Linked DNA regions of Homo sapiens: region 2 is linked to region 1. Evidence: promoter capture Hi-C in human tissues and cell types (Jung and others, 2019). All regions are on one chromosome and are shown on one strand. The core of a region is centred on a gene start or on the middle of the fragment in contact, and the rest is flanking DNA. Distances in the headings are between cores, read along the strand shown.

What was found. Contacts are between HindIII fragments. The study calls those that stand out against the background at their distance.
Region 2: a fragment that was not itself captured here is called in contact with the fragment with the promoter of DST in region 1 in 1 of the 25 tissues and cell types used here (hippocampus).

What each region holds. Positions count from the first base shown.
Region 1 is chr6:56,950,166-56,956,618 of GRCh38, reverse strand. DST (dystonin) reads left to right here and starts at 1,789. Exons shown (of 104, transcript NM_001374736.1): 1 at 1,789-2,212; 2 at 2,800-2,834. The coding sequence starts at 2,032. BEND6 (BEN domain containing 6) reads right to left here and starts at 1,512. Exons shown (of 7, transcript NM_152731.3): 1 at 1,159-1,512. RefSeq lists a silencer at 1,324-2,013 and an enhancer at 2,175-2,806. The HindIII fragment of the contact is 8,212 bases long and covers 1-6,453 here.
Region 2 is chr6:56,646,149-56,651,887 of GRCh38, reverse strand. DST (dystonin) reads left to right here. Exons shown (of 104, transcript NM_001374736.1): 11 at 644-756; 12 at 856-962; 13 at 3,199-3,318; 14 at 5,706-5,739. Among named protein-coding and RNA genes, the nearest start is that of DST-AS1, 190 kb to the left of the region's middle. The HindIII fragment of the contact is 5,250 bases long and covers 1-4,108 here.

The sequences.
Region 1 (6,453 bases), core at 540-3,039:
TCTGAGTTCAATCCAAAACAACTGAATGAATGAGATGCAACATGTCAACAATTCGAATGTTTATTTTGTTTAAGGAAACCAGCTGTAAACAAAACGTATCTGTTGTTTTCCATGCTTATGAATCTGGCACTAAGAGACTGCATTAACCAATGCCTTTTTAGGTTTAATACTTACACACGGTAATATGTTACTGGCTTTAAGGACATCAATGATTAAGCTTTCATGCAGAGCTGTACGGTTTTGTATAGTTGGAAAACAACACTGATTTTGAGATCACTACAAGCAAATAAAACTTTTATTCCTCCCAATTATTTACCTGCTTTTCAAATTTTTATAAATTTTTATGACACAATTTCTTCAGTCTATTAAATATTCCAAAAAAGAGGCTAATACAGTTGTTATAAGAAACTCCGCAAATGCAGTCAAGTGTTACCTTGTCACTATAATTAAAGTTTTCTTATGCGAGTAAATGAAACAAACAATCCAGCCCCACACAGGGAAAGCCAGCATTGCCTTGGGGGCAGCAGAACGCGGCACAGCACCGCCCGCCAAGGCCGCAAGATGCCGCAGAATGACTGCTGCAGCAGCCGCTTCCTGGCCAGGTGGCCGTGGCCGTCCGCAGAAAGGCACACTGCAGCGCTCTCGCTATACCTTCCGTGCTGGCATTGCATCAGTGTTAAATCCCCTGGCCACCAACTGCCATATACTTTTTGCTGGTTATGAAGAAACGTGGGGAGGGGACAAAGGGGAGACAGAGTGTGCCTGCAAGTGTGAGAGATCACTATTGCCTCACACTCCCTAAAAAATTTCTCCCCCAAATGTTTATAAGCCAAGTACCAACTTACTTCATCTGCCAGGTCCCTAAATCTGAAATCGCCTTGCCCTTCAAATGCACTAAATGAGTCAGGGTTTTAGGGCAAACCCAGGGATACAAGAAGATCGAAAGTGCCCAATTCTTAGCTGCGAGATAAGCACCAAGTTTGGGGTGGAAGAGTTCACCTCTGCCGACCAGAGCGTACTACCCCGGAGCGCTCCTAGTTTAGAGAGGCTTGGAGAGGAGTGGGCCTCCCGTTCCTGGAGTATCCCAATTCCCAGGGAAGGCCCTTCCCGGCGCTCGCGCTTCAGAGTGCGAGGAAACCCCCACAAGCAATAGCTCACCCGGCTGCATTCTTCAAAGCCCCAACCTCGGGGCGGGGCGCAGGGAGGTGGGAGGTGGAGGGTAGCACCGCCGGGAGGCTCCTGTCAGCGCCTCTCGGTTTTCCCCCTGGCTCCTTGGCGCCCCCTGACGACGGGCTCCGCAGCAATTTGGCCGAGGGAGGCTGGATAGGCGGAAGCTCCGGGTGTCCGGGAAGCTAGAGGCACCCGGCCAATGCACCCGCGGACGGCGCGGACTGGCGGGCGGCCCCGCGGGAGGGCGCTGGGCTCTCAGGCCCGGGTGCAGCCCGCGGACGCCGCCGAAACCGCCGCAGCCATGTCCGCGCGCCCGCGCTGCCGCAGCCTGGCCGTGATGTCATCAGCCGAGCCCCCGCCGCGGCGCCCCATTCCCGCCCCCCGCAGGCTGCCGCGGCTGCAGCCTGAGCGCCGCGTCCCCGCCCCGACCCACGTGCGCCCGGCTTCTGGGATGCTGAGGTCGGCGGCGGCCGCAGGACGATGCGCGGGGCCCGGGCGGCCGCGGCGGCGGCGCTGCTCCTCCCCACTCGCCGCGTCCCCGGCGGGGCTGCGCCCGGGGGCTGCGCACGGACGGGGGCGGGGGCGCCTGGGGAGGGAGGGGAGAGGATCCCAGCCGCCGAGTCGCAGCCTCGTCGCTGTCTGCTGAGTCATGGCAAGCGCTCCCCGCAGCCCTGGATCACTCGCGTAGCGCGGCTGGCGCGGGGTGCGCAGCCATTGGGCTGGGCGCGGGGCCGCGAGCGCCAGGCATGACGCGCTGAGCCGCGCTCACCCGTGCCCGCCGTCCCGGCGTGCGCCCAGCGCGGGTGCCTGTGCCGCCGCCCTCCAGCCCCGCCGTCGAGTCGCCCTCGCCTCGCCCGCACCATGATCGCCGCGGCTTTCCTCGTCTTGCTGAGACCCTACAGCATCCAATGTGCCCTCTTCCTCTTGTTGCTTCTGCTGGGCACCATCGCCACCATCGTCTTCTTCTGCTGCTGGCACCGCAAGCTCCAGAAAGGGAGGCATCCGATGAAATCGGTCTTCTCGGGTCGTTCAAGAAGCCGAGGTAAGACACGCCGCGACGGGTTTCTGCGGGCTACCAGGAACAATTAAGCCGATTTGGAGAGTGAAGCGCGGCTCGCTCCCTTCTCCTCGGCTGCCCCTAGCCCCATCATTGCCCACTCCCCAGGCTGAGTGCGTTTCTTTAACGCCCCTTGCCCTTTTTGCCGTCACCTCCGCCCTCCAGTCTCCCAGGTTTGAATAACCACGGCGATGCCGAGGGCAGGGAGGGGAGGAAAGAACTCAAATTTTTAGTCAGTTTGCTAAAGCCTTAAGGGTAATTTGAGCGTAGTCCGGGGCTGCGCCAGCCTCGCCTTCACGCATCCTTCGCTGGAGCGTAGGGGTAAGAAAGTAAGGCATGGAAACTTCGGGGCTCCCCAACTCCCCCAGAACTTTCATGCAAACTTCTCGCGGAGAAATCACGTAGAGACCGATGGCCCCAGGACTCCTCCTCCCTCCCCCAGGATGTCCCACCGAATTCCAGGAGTCTGCGATGTGCTTTCCCAACCCTGGTCTCCCAGGTAAGTCATGAGTCACTCGGTAGGTGAAGAACAAGGAGTTAAATGAAGTCTCATTTATCTCTTTTCTCCCCAGATGCTGTTTTGAGATCGCACCACTTTCGTTCTGAGGTAATTTATTTAGCGCGCACGCTCAAGGTCAGAAGAAGTTCTCTTTCCTGAGTACCAATATTAATTATATGCGTGTTAAGAAACCAGTAGGACACTGAATGACGAACATGCTGTCCCCTAGCCGAAAGTGGCATGTTTCCTTTTAAGTGATTTCATATTAGTGCCCAGCGAACGGTTTTAGCAAATTTCTTGTGTAGTGGAGCTGTTGTACAAGAGGGGAAAAGGCAAACCCTAAAAGTGCTGCAGACCTTAAAAAACTTAGCCACAGGGTGGATGTCACTTGAGTTTACAGTTTATATTTTGCTGGTGGAAGTGTTTTCTGGGTGCTGTCAGTTGACTCTGGTTGTTCACTTGGATAAACGAAGAGGTTAGTGCAGAACAATTTGATCCATATGCATTTCATTTTCGATTTTCAAGTTTACATTTCTGTTTTCTCCTAAAGCTCTCCATGTTTTATTGGGGACCATCTGATGATTTTTGCAAAGCGATGATGGTAGTGTGTGCTTAAATGCTTGTGCTAGTCTCCACTCTCAAAACGTGGACCATCCCTCTAGGGCAAGTAACTCCTAATCACTGCACCCAGGAACCAGCTCCACTGAAGAAACACAAGCGCTCCTTGACCTAGGATTTCTTTAGGAGTTTTCAGGCCAACCTCCACTTATCCTAAGATAATTTCCCCTCTTTTTAGGAAAGTTGCACGCCGCCAGGCTTGGAGGTTGCTGCTTGGTGCAGTTTACTCATGTTGGCAAAGACTTCATAGTTAAACGCCCTCCATTTACCTGAAGTTATCTTGCCTTTCATTTCATTAGTTAATCAGATATTTTATGCCACCCTAGATGTTTTATTGGGTTCTAGTTGCTTAAAAACTTTAACTGTATTATTGCAATATCATTAAAATGTTGCACAAAGAGTAATTCTACTGTATATAGCCCTGGAAGGTGAGAACTCTATTCAGTTTAGGATTCTTGAGAGGATAAGTGAGGTAATCAGAGGTTCCATTCCTGGCTTTACATTAACTAGCTGTGTGATACATCTCGGTGCCTCGATTTACCCATCTGTAAGATAGGGCCATTAGTACCTTGCAGGGTTATGGGAGGGTGGAGGAAATTACAAGAAATTGTGTAAAGAAAAATCCCACTTAGTTCATAATAAGTATTCAGTATTTGGTAGCTATCATTATATTTTGTAAAATTGAATTTTAAAATGTATAAAAATAAACGATAATGTTTGCAAATTTCCAAGTCTTTATTAAATTACTTAATTAAAGTTTATGGAAAACATCAAAAACCGGGACTATCGTAAAGCAACAATTTTTGAATATGAGATTAATTCAATAGAACAGCCCATTCAGATGTGATGAGAAGTAAATAATTGACAGAGTGCAAACACCAAAATATAAGATTTTGATTTTAAAAAGAGATACCCAGTTCCACACACATAAATGATAGAACAAGAATAATAATCCTGTTTTGGATTATTATACTAGCCATCAGATATTTCAGCTAAAGCACAAACAAAAAATGAGATACAACTATGTCTTGTTTAATTATCTCTCAGTTGAATATTTTTGTTCTGAGCTTGCATTTGGTTAGGAAAGCTGGGGGTAGTTGTTTAATGCCTTAACTCACTTCATAAGATTCCTGGTACAGTTTGACATCTTTGTGTGGTATTTGCCTTGTCTACTAGACTGTGAGCTCCTTGAGGGCAGGACCATATCTTTCTTGTTTAGGGCTGTATCCCCACTATTTGGCTCAGTGCCTTGTATACAGTGGGTTATTAATAAATATTTATTGAATGAATGAATGAAAAAAAAAATCTCCTAGTGGGTGCTAGTTCCTGAAACTGGGCAAATAGAACTCAGAGTTGGGCAGAAAAGAAAAATGCACATTCTCAGGACATCGCTCAGAATTCAACATTTGCTAAATCTCAACTCTTACTGGATCTTTGCAGGCTTTTAAAAATTGCCCTGGAGTTTGTGCTAAAAATGTAAGTCACAAATTGAAACAAAATGGATTCGGTTTGAATTTTTTTCTGAAAAATTTAAATGCAATATTAGTTTAATTTGTTGATGGGCTACCCATCAGCAAGCTGTTTTGATAAACCACTCAAAGAATGCCATTTATAAGTGAAAATTATGGGACTGTGTTGCAAAAGAATGTCATGTTTCATCACTACTTTGCTTACATAAATGAAATATTTTCCCTTAAGGAAAACATAGGGAATATTTTTCTTTTCTCTTTTCTATCAAGATGCCATTTTCTGCAAGATTTTCTCTTTGAGAAATACCTCTGAATTTACTTGGTTTTAAACATATTTTAAAAAATAGAATTTGTGTAGCATAATGAATATTCTTGTTGCTTTTTAGTAGTAGCTGCTGCAAAATAATTATTCAAGAAAATATTTTGATTTCTGACAAATCATAGTCATATTGAACTAAGAATTTAGTACTTTCTGTTTCTCCTTCCATTCTCAGTAAGTAGATTAACTCACTTTCAGCATTTCTACCATGGTCAAAGGAGGAAAATGAGTTTAGGATCTGCTGACTCACTTTGAACCATGAAAAAGCTTTGGGCTAGCCCTTGTACAGATGAAGAAGTTCAGTGAGTACTTTGATGCTCTACTTGGCAGAATGTATTGCTTCTGGTACCCACACGCCCAGGAAGGAGTCCAATTGCACAGGAAGTTTTAGCCGGTTCCTTTTCAGGTAGTCAGAGAAATACTCCTAGAGAAAAAATCATCGCACCAGGACTCAGTTTGCTTTGGGAAAGTTCTGCAGTAGGGAAAAAAGCCACCTTCCTCATCTGAGGAGCTCCAGCTATTTTCTCCTCACTAAGTATATAATAAACACATTTTTTCAGTTTCTTCCTCATGAAGCTAGAAATAAGTAATATAGATGTTTATAATAAGTTTTGGAACCATAACTGCCAACCCTTTTTATTTTCACATACTTGCAAACTTTACTAGCTTTTTAGTAGTCTTCTAAATGTTCATAAATAGCATATGAGAATGTGAAATAATTAATGCAGCTAGCAAGGCCTGAACAGTGTAACTTCATTTCAGTAATAGACAGAAATATGTGTTTTATGTATGCATATTAAACACTTACACAGTGTTTTTGTTCTTGTTATGCTAAACAGCTAATGAAGAGAAGTGATTTCACATTGATGTAGCAAGACAGTCTAGAAACCAAGCGTTCATTCTGGTTTCTAGAATCCTGTTATCTAAGAAGTGTACTTTTCCTGAGGATTTATAATGCTTTATGCTGTGACTTTAAATAATGGTAAACTGTTACCCTAGATTCCTGTGGTGAAAGTCAGGCTGTGACAATCCTGATTTTAAGGAAATTTCAGAAAGTGATATGGGTAATTGAGGTACCATTAGATTATAAGAAAGGGTCTTGGGAGTACTTCAGTAGAATGGAGACTATTATAATGCCCTTTGAGAATATCCAGAGTGAATAGTGGTAAATAATCCCTATTCATGAGCTCAGTGGAATAAGGGAAGCCTTGTCTGACATAAGGAAGGAGAAGAGTGTGTTCTATATCTACCAATTTTTGAGTAAATATCTCTATTTCCTGTTTCAGGCAAAGGAACCAAAAGAGTTAAGCAGTTCCCAAAG
Region 2 (5,739 bases), core at 234-2,733, 300 kb after region 1:
GAGAAACAACATATACATGTACACGAACCAGTGAATTAATAGGGCAAGGAGTCTAAGATTATCCTAAGTGCCATATCGTGGGGTGCAGGCTGGAAGTATGAGTTCAGGAAACAGAGACAGAAATAAGGGCTAGGAAGATCAGCCAGGCTCCATAGAGGAGGTGGAGCTTGATCTCTCCTTGGAAGAATGACTAGGATTATAGAAGACAAAGATGATGTGAAAGGGTATGGTGCAATGGGGAGGCCATGGACACAGCACTGAATTAAGCTACAAGCTTTTTGTCTTAGAGGAAAAACATTGACAGGATGCTGGTTGGATTGGAAAGATGCTGTTGGAGTAGCGTAGCTTAAATCAGTTGAATAGGACAAATACTCATATATATTCTGACTATGATATATTTGTAGACTTTGTTGAAATTTATATATGTTCAAATTGTTATATTTTCATTGTTATATTTGCTTTCGATACAGAAGTTTCTGAGATAAGTGAGCAATGTTAAATGTTTGATGAAAGTCTCTGCATTTTAACGCAGGCTTGGTGTTAATATTAGCAGATGTTGTTATGTAAATGGAAACCTATATAATTATATAATGTTGAATTGGCACATGAGAAAACCTAATTAACACAGTGAATTTTTTCCTAGGCCGGACCTGATAGATATGAATACTGTTGCTGTTCAAAGCAACCTTGCAAATTTAGAGCATGCTTTTTACGTAGCAGAAAAAATTGGTGTTATAAGACTTCTGGACCCTGAAGGTGAGTTATTTTCTTGATTATATGTGGACTGGCATGAAAGTCTGATCAAAAGTAATTTATCAACATTGTGAAATAATTAATTTATGTTGCTGTTTTTAGATGTCGATGTCTCCTCACCTGATGAAAAATCAGTAATAACTTACGTGTCATCTCTCTATGATGCATTTCCTAAAGTCCCTGAAGGTGGGGAAGGCATTGGTGCAAATGTGAGTATTGATTTTTCCACACCGGAAGCTGTTGATTCAGTAATGACCAATTGACTGCATTTATTGATAATGATTTTTGCAGTTTTTGAATGTTGAATATATTTTAAAGAATTTGAGTTAATATGCTGTTTGATGAATTGATATTCTATGTATTTCATGACATTATTCTACCATTAAATTTAAAGTATAACTCATTAAAACTTTTGTGTCATAAATAAAAGAGGCTATTTATAGTTACCGATCATCTTATAAATAAAAGGTTTAACTTTCTGAAATTTAGAGTTTTCCATTTTTAGCTGGCTGCCGTTTTACATTGCTGTATTTGCTATTCTTTTGTATGTATAGAATATCTCAGTTTTGAAAACAATTTCAAATTTGTTACTTCATACGATTCTATGAAATAAGTTGGCTTGATAACATTTTTGTGATTTAAAGGAGGACTCCAGAGGAAAATTATTGGATTTGGCCAAATTAGCAGAGCCACTTAGTAAGCAGGGAAAGGTCTCTGACACATAGCTTTGGGCTGTTTATTAGTCTACTATTTCTTAAAGGTTTGTGTAACTCACTTCAGTGATGCTTTTTTTTTTTTTTTTTTTTTTTGGGTGGTTATGCTAACAAGTGCTTATGCATTTCTGAAGAGAACAGGAAGCCCAGTATGTGTCACATATTTGGGGATGATCCCCTTCACTTGGATTTCTGCCTTCCTCTTTGCAGACACCTTTTTTCCCCTACATTACTTTGAAGATTTAGGAGCTCATCTTTGATTAGCTCCCCTGGATTAGGAGCTCCCTTTTCTGATTGCTTCTGTCAGTTCTCTGTGCTGTTTCTAGACCTGTTTCCATATTCTTCCTCAGGTTCTTCTTTTCAAAGGCTTCATGCTCTTTGATCCCTGAGTAGCCTGTTCCCATGCTCACCCCTGATGATTCAATGTTGAGCGTTGCTTCAGAATGTTTCTTTGGCCATCTCTTGCTGCTGCTTCTCCCAACCTTCATGCTGATCCTGCTGCCTATTACTGCAGAACTAGGCCGATAGCTTTCCTACAGCTTTCTGTCTCCATTTTGTTCTTCTTCCCACTGCCTCGGCACACTGTTGCCAAATTAATCTGTCTAAAACCTGATGTCTTTGGCTTGAAAATTTTCAGTGTCTACATATTCCTTGCAAAGTTAAATGCAATCTAGATATTCTGACATTTAAAACTGCAAATATTTATTCTGTTTACCTACATGTTTTAGCTATGATTTCCCAATATGAACTGTTTACTGGTAGCCAGGACATTTCCATGTCAATGTCCTGACTCACTTGGGACTCCCCTTTTATCCACTCTTTCAGCACCCCCACTCACCTCCCCCCATCAATAATTACTTACTGGTCATTGCAGAACATCTCAGATACTGCCTTTCCCAAGAAGCCTTTAGAAACTATTTTAAGGCACAGATATGCTTGCCTGATTCTTATCTCAACTAGCATGTACTACCCGTTTTAGTTATTTCAACATTTCAACACTTAATTAAATACTGCTCTTCATTTTGCCTGTTTATATTATGTATCTCTCTTGCCTCTGCATTTAGACAGTAACTCCTTGACAATAGGTATTATATCTTAAAGTATTTTTTTATTATAACACTCAACACAACCTTTGAACATAATAATAAGCACTCATCAAATACTTAAACAGAGCAGTTGGCAGCCTTCCAAGTTTCCTCCATTTTTAAAGAGTTTGCCTACTGAGTACTTGGATAATCCCACCATATACATTTCCTGTAGTTTGTGTACATATCTGGTTTCCTATATATTGGGTAAGTCTTTTGAGTTTGAGATACATAGTAGATTTAGATCTAAAATAGTTGGCAAAGATGGCAACTAACTTGGCTTATGCAAGTTGTTACTGCCCAATCTTGAGCCCTGGTAAACACCCCAAATTGACTTTGGATTTTTTTCTGCTGTGCTTAGATTGAGCCCCAAAAGCCTTCTAAATACAATACCCCAGGCAGCCACTTTCTTTGGATCAGAATTGGCACTCATAAGGCTAGTGTTAGTGGCCAAATGTTGATAGCAAATTTTACAGGTGTTTATGTGACAGGGATTGGGGCTGGGTGAAAGTAAGAAAACATTTAGCTGGTTCTGTCTGTCAGGCTTCAAATACATACATTTACAGAATGACTTCTGACTAAATTGTCTTAGATATGAATGTTATTATCTACAGATGTGAACCTTTTCTATCATTTGATTGTTCTAGGATGTTGAAGTCAAATGGATTGAATACCAGAATATGGTGAACTACCTCATCCAATGGATTAGACACCATGTGACCACAATGTCTGAGAGAACATTTCCTAATAATCCTGTAGAACTGAAGGTTAGTGTCACTGTAGAAATTACATAGGATTGATTCAATTGTAAACCCTTAAGTAATGCTATAATAATTCTGTAATTTTAGAAGTTCAACAAAAGTTGCCCTTGGAAAGCCATTAATAAGTAGGCAAAATTTGTATTACTCATTTCTCTTATTATACAGAGAAAATGGAGGTAAAACATTAACAATTAAAACAGATTAGCTGTAGTCACTCAGCTTTGGTTGAGAGGTTAAAGGTTTAATTTGAGAGAGTCTCTGAAACTGACATTGTCAGATTGATTTTAGTACATGGGAAATGCTTGCAGCCCCCGAGATGGCTTGAGGTAGAAGGGACCCTGGGAAGTACATACAAGTGTGGCACTGGATTGGGGGTGTGCCTGTGGTTGAGCCCTGTTAAAAACTGCTTCTTTTGTGCAGGAAGCATCTTTTGTGCAGGAAGAGGTACACAGTATTTCACCATGAATTTGAAAATACATGTCTGACTTCCAGTATAAGTGAATTCATGGTTTAGTAAAACATTTGCTAATACTGAAAAACTTAGGGCAAGCTTTTGAGGCAAAGACATTGCAGATATAAAAGCCATTATAGGCCGGGTGCGGTGGGTCACACCCGTAATCCCAGCACTTTGGGAGGCCAAGATGGGTGGATCACCTGAGGTCAGGAGTTTGAGACCAGCCTGGCTAACATGGTGAAACCCCATCTCTATTAAAAATACAAAAATCAGCCTGGCGTGGTGGCACACACTTGTAATCCCAGTTACTCAGGAGGCTGAGGCAGGAGAATCGCTTGAACCTGGGAGGTGGAGGTTGCAGTAAGCCGAGATCGCATCACTGCACTCCATCCTGGGCGAGAGAGCAAGACTCCGTCTCAAAAAAAAAAAAAAACATTACAAAAAGCCATTACAAATATGTAAACTTATTAAAGAGTAAGTTGTCTCATTTGTATATTTGGTTTTATAATAGCAAAGTGGTCTACTTTATTTCTAGAAGCTGATAATGCGAATATTGCCGACAAAGCCTTAATTCTTTGGTTTGTAAGCTTTATTTTCATGATCAAACTGGGATAGAAAAAACTGTAATAACCTAGGGTGAGCTCCATTAGAGTTATTCATTGTGCTCCTGCATCCGTACAGAATATCTGTAGAACAGCTTTCATTCTCATTGCCACGGGGAGTTTGTCCTTGGCACGAAATTACTTGGCATCTGATGATATGATACTTTTTAAGTGTTCTCAAGCTGTTTGTGTGATGTTTCCCTACATGGACATGTAATTTTCCAGGGCAGGAAAACTTTTCCCTACAACGACCATGTGGTGCCATGAACAGTGTTTAGCACACAGGAGTATTCGGTGCTTAATGACCAACAGACGTCCTGAAACATTGCATTCTGATTTCAAAACCATTTTCAGATTTCATGTTCAAATACACTTATTTCCAAATGGATTTCCATTGTCCAGACCCTTGGATGAATTGTACTGGCTTCTGGTTAGTGTAGATTCTTAGTTATAGAAGAAGTGATCAGAGTACTTGCTGATGACTAGAACAAGACATAGATTAGGAAAGAAAATACATCATGGGGAAATGCCAGATAATTGCATTAGCAGAACTTTGAATGGAATCCTTCAGAAATGTGTCATCCTAAAGATTTACAGGGTCTTGTTTTGTAGCTGCATGAATTACAATGAAGTAATTAGTACATACCTATTAAATATGGAGATACATTATCTACATAATTTTTATGAAGGTCCCTTTTAATAAATACACTGTATTTAAGAGGTTCCCAAATTAATGTATACAAACTAGATAGTAACTTAATTACACGGTTGAAACTTCTGTAATAATAGCCCCATCAACTAATAGCATCTACCTTCATTTGTTCAAAAAATCTGTTTAAATTTGCCAGTGGGACATTGAAACTAAATTTTAGCCCTTTCTGCTAAGAAGTTTTTTTTTTTTGAAGGATAGAACCATGCAATAGAAGAGAGTTTTTTTATTGCTTTCTTTATGGGAATTGCTTCAAATTATTTTTCCAAAGACTGAAAGCTAAAGTGCAGCATTTGGGAAGTGCATCTTTTAAAGGGTATGTTTTCTTGTTTGGAGGATGAGAGATTTTTAGTAGAGCACTAGTAAACACTGAATGGTTTATTATTATCCAGATCCCCCTGTGGCACTAAATCATGGCTCACATCAATAATTACACCCTCATCAAATTTTAGATAACCCACGTCACCAGCTGGCTGGAAATTGGTATTGTCTTTGAGTGTCGGTTTAACAAAGGAATTCCACTGACTGCATATGATACAGTACATAACACTTGAAGTGGTGGCTTAGTGAGATCATGAAAACAGATCTTTTAAGTTTGGTCCTTAATTTCTTGTCCTTTTTATTTTAGGCACTTTATAATCAGTATTTACAGTTTAAAGAAA